Linked DNA regions of Homo sapiens: region 2 is linked to region 1. The links are contacts of gene promoters, found by promoter capture Hi-C in blood cells and fetal thymus (Javierre and others, 2016). All regions are on one chromosome and are shown on one strand. The core of a region is centred on a gene start or on the middle of the fragment in contact, and the rest is flanking DNA. Distances in the headings are between cores, read along the strand shown. Region 1 holds the start of TLR10 (toll like receptor 10). Region 2 has its middle 160 kb from the start of LINC02513.

Region 1 (2,700 bases), core at 167-2,666:
AATGCTGCCACTGATATGACAGGGTGTGGAGCTCAGGTGGTAATGCAAGCGATGGGGAGCGACTGTAAATACAGATGAAGCTTCATTTGCTTACCCACCACTCACCTCCTGCTGTGTGGCTCGGTTCCTAACAGGCCATGAACTGGTACCTGTCTGTGGCCCAGGGGTTGGGGACCACTGCTCTAGATAACTCCTTTCCACCCTCTTCCTGCCTGATTGCTGAAATTATGGAGTCACCATTCCTACTCCTGCCCATCATCACATGACTGCCCCACCCAACTGATGAAAGGGATAACCGACCTGCACCTTGAAGAAAAGCATCATCAAAGAGCTCTAAGATGCTGTGGAAAACCAGTATGGTAGTTCTGCAAAAAATTAAACAGAATGGTCATACGATCCGTGAATTCCACTTCTAGGTATAGACTCAAAAGAATGTTAAGTACCAACTTAAATAGATATTTGTGCACCACGTTCACAGCAGCATTATTCACAAGAGCCAAAAGGTGAAAACTACCCAAATGTCCATTGATGGATGAATGAATGAACAAAATGTGGGACGTACATACAACAAAATAGTATTCAGCCTTAAAAAAGGAAGGAAAGATTCTATTATTCTATGTAATAATAATAGAAATGATATGGATGAACCTTAAAGACATTATGCTCAATGAAATAAGCCAGTCACAAAAAACCAAATATGGTATAACTCCACGGACATGAGGTACCTAGAGTAGTCAAATTCACACAGACAGAAAGTAGAATTATAGTTTCCAGGGTCTGAGGGAAGGGGAAAATGGGAAATTATTTTTTAATGGCATAGAATTTCAGTTTGGGATGACGAAAAATCTTTGGAGATGGGCAGTGGTGGTGGTTGCACAACAGTGTGAATGTACTTAATTAATGCCACTAAATTGTACATTTAAAAATGCTTAAGGTCAGGCGCGGTGGCTCACACCGTAATCCTAGCACTTTGGGAGGCCGAGACAGGCAGATCACTTGAGCTCAGGAGTTCAAGACCAGCCTGGGCAACTGGCGAAACCCCGTCTCTACAAAAAATACAAAAAACTTAGCCAGGCCAGTTGGTGAGCGCCTGTAGTCCCAGACATTTGCGGGACTGAGAAGCCCAGCCTCTTGCGGGCTTTAGCGCAAGAGGTCAAGGCTGCAGTGAGCAGTGATCACACCACTGCACTCCAGCCTGGGTGACAAAGTGAGACCCTACCTCAAAAAAAATAAAAATAAAAATAAAAATAGAAAGATGGTGAGCATGATAACTCCTATGTTATGTGTATTTGACCACAATTTAAAAAAGTGCTAAGATTATAATGAATATATATAACATGCAATACCAGTAGCATGCAGAAGAGGGCGGATGGGGTTTAAGCTTTACAGAAAACCTCGATTCAATTCCCTCCTGCAGCCAATTCTGACCGTGTCAACGAATCATCCACGCACCTGCAGCTCTGCTGAGAGAGTGCAAGCCGTGGGGTAAGAACCTTAGCTTTGTTTGTTGTAACTCTCATTAAAAAGATATAAGGGCTGCATGGGTATTTTCTAAAAAGGAGATAATTTGAGCTAATATTGAGGGGAGGGAAGTAGGGTTATTTAGATTTTTAGTATTTACTATTTTGTCTAGATTAATGATTAGTGACCTTGGGGCTATTGATCTGAGGAATTTCTTGCAGATGCTTGAGAGCGTGGGTTTCTTTTCACTGATTGCGGATCAAACCTGGTCAGCTCTTCTATTCAGATTGAACGGTCCTATGCACTGTGGCAAGTTTTTTCTAGCTCTTATTTCCCCACAGCGTATGTTAACCTCTGCTGGATGAAACCTTTGGCTATTTAAGGCATATTTGTTGCTCCTTTACCCCGTTGAAAAGTTCTGCATTTGTGTTACCTGTTTAAAAGTAGGGGCAGATCTGATGGATCTTGTACAATGCAGTTCTTATTCCGTTTCCTTCAGAAGTGGACAAAGAGGGCCATATGTGGTTGCTGTAAAGAAGAGGATGGTTAACAACCTGTGAGCATTTGGTTTCTTGATAAGCTTTCTCCCAGACCACCTACACTGAGCTATTAATTAGGAATAGGATGCACTTCGAGTTTTATTTCAATTCTTGTGAACTTATAACTTTCCTAAGAATATATTTATACATGTAGGCAAAGTCTCTTGAACTTTGTGGCACCTAGCAGAGTGTCCCACAGCAGCTGCATGAAGCTTCATAGACAGGGGCATGGGGTGAGAAAGGAGGAAGTGGCCGCCATGGCAGCTGGTCAGATCAATGGATTCAACCTCAGTGATTCGGTCCTTAGGATGTCGTTACATCTTAAGCCACCTCATTTCAAGGTTTGAGGTGCCTTGCATTTGGGTTTAGTTACCATCCAGAAGGAACCAGACAGGTCTGGGTTCAAATCTCTGCTTCTTCAGTTGGTCATCTTGGGCAAGTTACTTTACCTCTGGGCTTTAGCTCCTCCATCTGTAAAATATGAATAATAATGGCCGCCATTTTGTTGAGTCATTGAGGGATTAAACAAGGTAATGGACATAAAACACTTAGCTCCATGTCAGACACGTAGGAAATACTGAAAAGAAGTCATTCTTACTCTTATGTTGCAAAGATCATTCAACATTCAATAGGTTCTTAATCTCTTTTCTATTTCTTTATATCATTGGGAAAAGATAAATTAGATGATTAAATATTCTTT
Region 2 (2,700 bases), core at 142-2,641, 570 kb after region 1:
AGCAGTGTGGGTCTTTTTGTTTCGTTTTGTTTTTCTTGAGGTGGAGTCTCTCCCTTTCACCCAAGCTGGAGTGCAGTGATGTGATCACAGCTCACTACAACCTCCACCTCCCGGGTTCAAGTGATTCTCATGCCTCGACCTCCCGAGTAGCTGGAATTACAGCTGTTTACCACCATGGGTGGCTAATTTTTGTATTTTTAGTAGACACAGGGTTTCACCATGTTGGCTAGGCTGGTCTCGAACTCCTGACCTCAAGTGATTCGCCCGCCTCGGCCTCCCAAAGTGCTGGGATTACAAGCATGAGCCAACGCGCCCAGCCAGGTCTTTTCTGTGTAGATTCCTAGGGCCTCTTTAGCATCTAATGTTACATGACCCTAAGAGCATGCCTGGTTGTTCTGCTGCCCTGGAACATTCTGAGATGCTTCCACAATCCTCCCTTCAGTTCTCCTGAATGCTCTTGGAGCTTTGTTTTTGGGTGCCCTAGCCTCAGGCTTTGCTGCAGTTCTGGGAACTGATCACCTCATCTTGAGGGGATAAACTTTTTGGAGCTGGGATTTCCCTCACAGAGATAGGGTTCCCCTAATTCTCATTTCTTGGGCTTAGAGTAAGTAAAAGGGTGAATTGGATATTGAAAGTCCGGCTGGCAGATCAGTCTCACCTCTTGGAATGTCCTATTGGCCGGGTCTCTAGGCAAGTCTCCTCCCACCCAAAACACAGTTTTTGGGTCTAGAGTGTACCTCTTATTCCTTATCTGAAATGGGAGGATTTCTGGGGTGTAAGACTCTTTGCCATCCCATCCATCCACCTTCTTAGATGTCAGGGTTCCTGGCCTTTTTCTACTTCATTTCTCACAAGTCACTACTCCTGCCCAAAATACTGGCCTCTGGTTCTCAAAACCATCTGGCTCACCACTGGAAACCAGCCAGCCAACGTCTGGCACGTCTGAGCAGCCTCAATTCCTCAGATTCCTCTCCTACTTGGTTCCTGAGGCACTCAAAGGCCTTCCTCTGGCCAACATCTCTTGGCCATTTACCCCTGTTTATCTTACGGTCAGATTGGCAAGAATCTTAAGTCCCTCCCCTGCCCACTCGTGCAGTCTCATCAGGCTTAGGGGACCTAGGAAAGCCCCAGATCAGCTTATCAAGGACCGCCAGGAGTTAGATCCACTGCAGAAATGAACACTAAACAAGAGGACCAAATCCTGTACCCTGTCCACATATTCAGACTCCCTGACCAAGCTACCATCAGGCCAAAAGTAAAAGCTGTCACAGTATGTGCTAAATCAACAGAACATAAGAGGAAGCAAAGGAAATAGAAACATATTTTCTTTTTTTTTTTCTGAGACAAAGTTTCACTCTGTCACCCAGGCTGGAGTGCAGTGGCGCAATCTCGGCTCACTGCAACCTCTGCCACCCACGTTCAAGCTATTCTCCTGCCTCAGCCTCCCATGTAGCTGGGATTTCAGGCACGTGCCACCACACCCAGCTAATGTTTGTATTTTTAGTAGAGACGGGGGTTTCACCATGTTAGCCAGGCTGGTCTCAAATCCTGACCTCGTGATCGTCCCACCTAGGCCTCCCAAAATGCTGGGATTATAAGCATGAGCCACTGCACCCAGCCTAGGAACATATTTTTAAAGTGAGCCCTTGCACATTCTAACGGCCCCTCTCAGCATCCACTCTTATTTACTTAGTCAGCAAATGTGGCCCTGTGAGGGATTTGGCTGGCCAAACACAGCCTCTGCCTTCTCAACAGCTCTCCTCTGTCTAGCATAGTCCTTGCTTGAGTGGAACAGTTTTTCAAAACGTTCTGCACTTCTCCTGGTGAGCTGCGGACTGAGAGTGGCTGCTATGGGTTTCTGCCCAATGGTTTTTTGCTTAAACAACCTATGCTTTTACAAACACACCCTGACCGCTCTGAAGTCGTTTCTGTCCTGGATCTGTATCCCAAGCCACTGTATTGTTTTCATTTCCTGTGCTTCTTAACTTCCTTGTCATAATATTATCTTACATTCATGGCGCCACTAGTCCGCAGGCAGGGTGATATACCACCATTTGGCATCAGTAGAAGTTGTTTCATCCAACTTCAATCGTGGTCACTCTGAGGCGCCCTGCAGTGGCTATTTAGCAAGTCAGGAGTGACTTTCACAGGAATGCAAGGCATGACTTTAGGAATGGTGCATATTTTTCAGATGGGCTGTTCCCTGTTGAAATTGGTTTGTGAAGAATCCTGTGTGCCCAGCAAGGATTTAGAAAGAGAGATGTATACCATGCTGTAGTGTAGACAGTGTATATGGAGTCCTGAACCTCTCTTTCACCTGGCTTTCAAAAGTCAGGTAAGGCCGGCTGGACGCAGTGGCTCACATCTATAATTCCAATGCTTTGGGAGGCTGAAGTGGGAGGACGGCTTGGGGCCAGGTGTTCTGGACCACCCCTGGGCAACATGGGGAGACTTCGTCTCTACAAAAAATTTAAAAGTTAGCCATGCAAAGTGGTGTGCGTCTGTAGTCCCAGCTACGCAGGAGGCTGAGGTGGGAGGATCACTTGAGCCCAGGAGTTCGAGGCTGCAGTGTGCTGTGATCGTGCCACTGCACTCCAGCCTGAGCAACAGAGTGAGACCCTGTCTATTAAAAAAAAAAAAAAAAAAAAAGTCAGGTAAGCTATCAAAACCCCAAGAGTGCACTGCCACAGGGCTGAGCCC

Evidence for each region. Contacts are between HindIII fragments. The CHiCAGO score rates a contact against its expected background, and 5 or more counts as called.
Region 2: a contact is called between a fragment that was not itself captured here and the fragment with the promoter of TLR10 in region 1, in 1 of 17 cell types (total CD8 T cells). The highest score is 5.5, in total CD8 T cells.

Annotation. Positions count from the first base shown.
Region 1 is chr4:38,781,706-38,784,405 of GRCh38, reverse strand. TLR10 (toll like receptor 10) reads left to right here and starts at 1,416. Exons shown (of 4, transcript NM_030956.4): 1 at 1,416-1,485. RefSeq lists enhancers at 2,095-2,264, 2,327-2,536. The HindIII fragment of the contact is 660 bases long and covers 1,384-2,043 here.
Region 2 is chr4:38,209,941-38,212,640 of GRCh38, reverse strand. No RefSeq gene overlaps it. Among named protein-coding and RNA genes, the nearest start is that of LINC02513, 160 kb to the left of the region's middle. The HindIII fragment of the contact is 5,169 bases long and covers 1-2,700 here.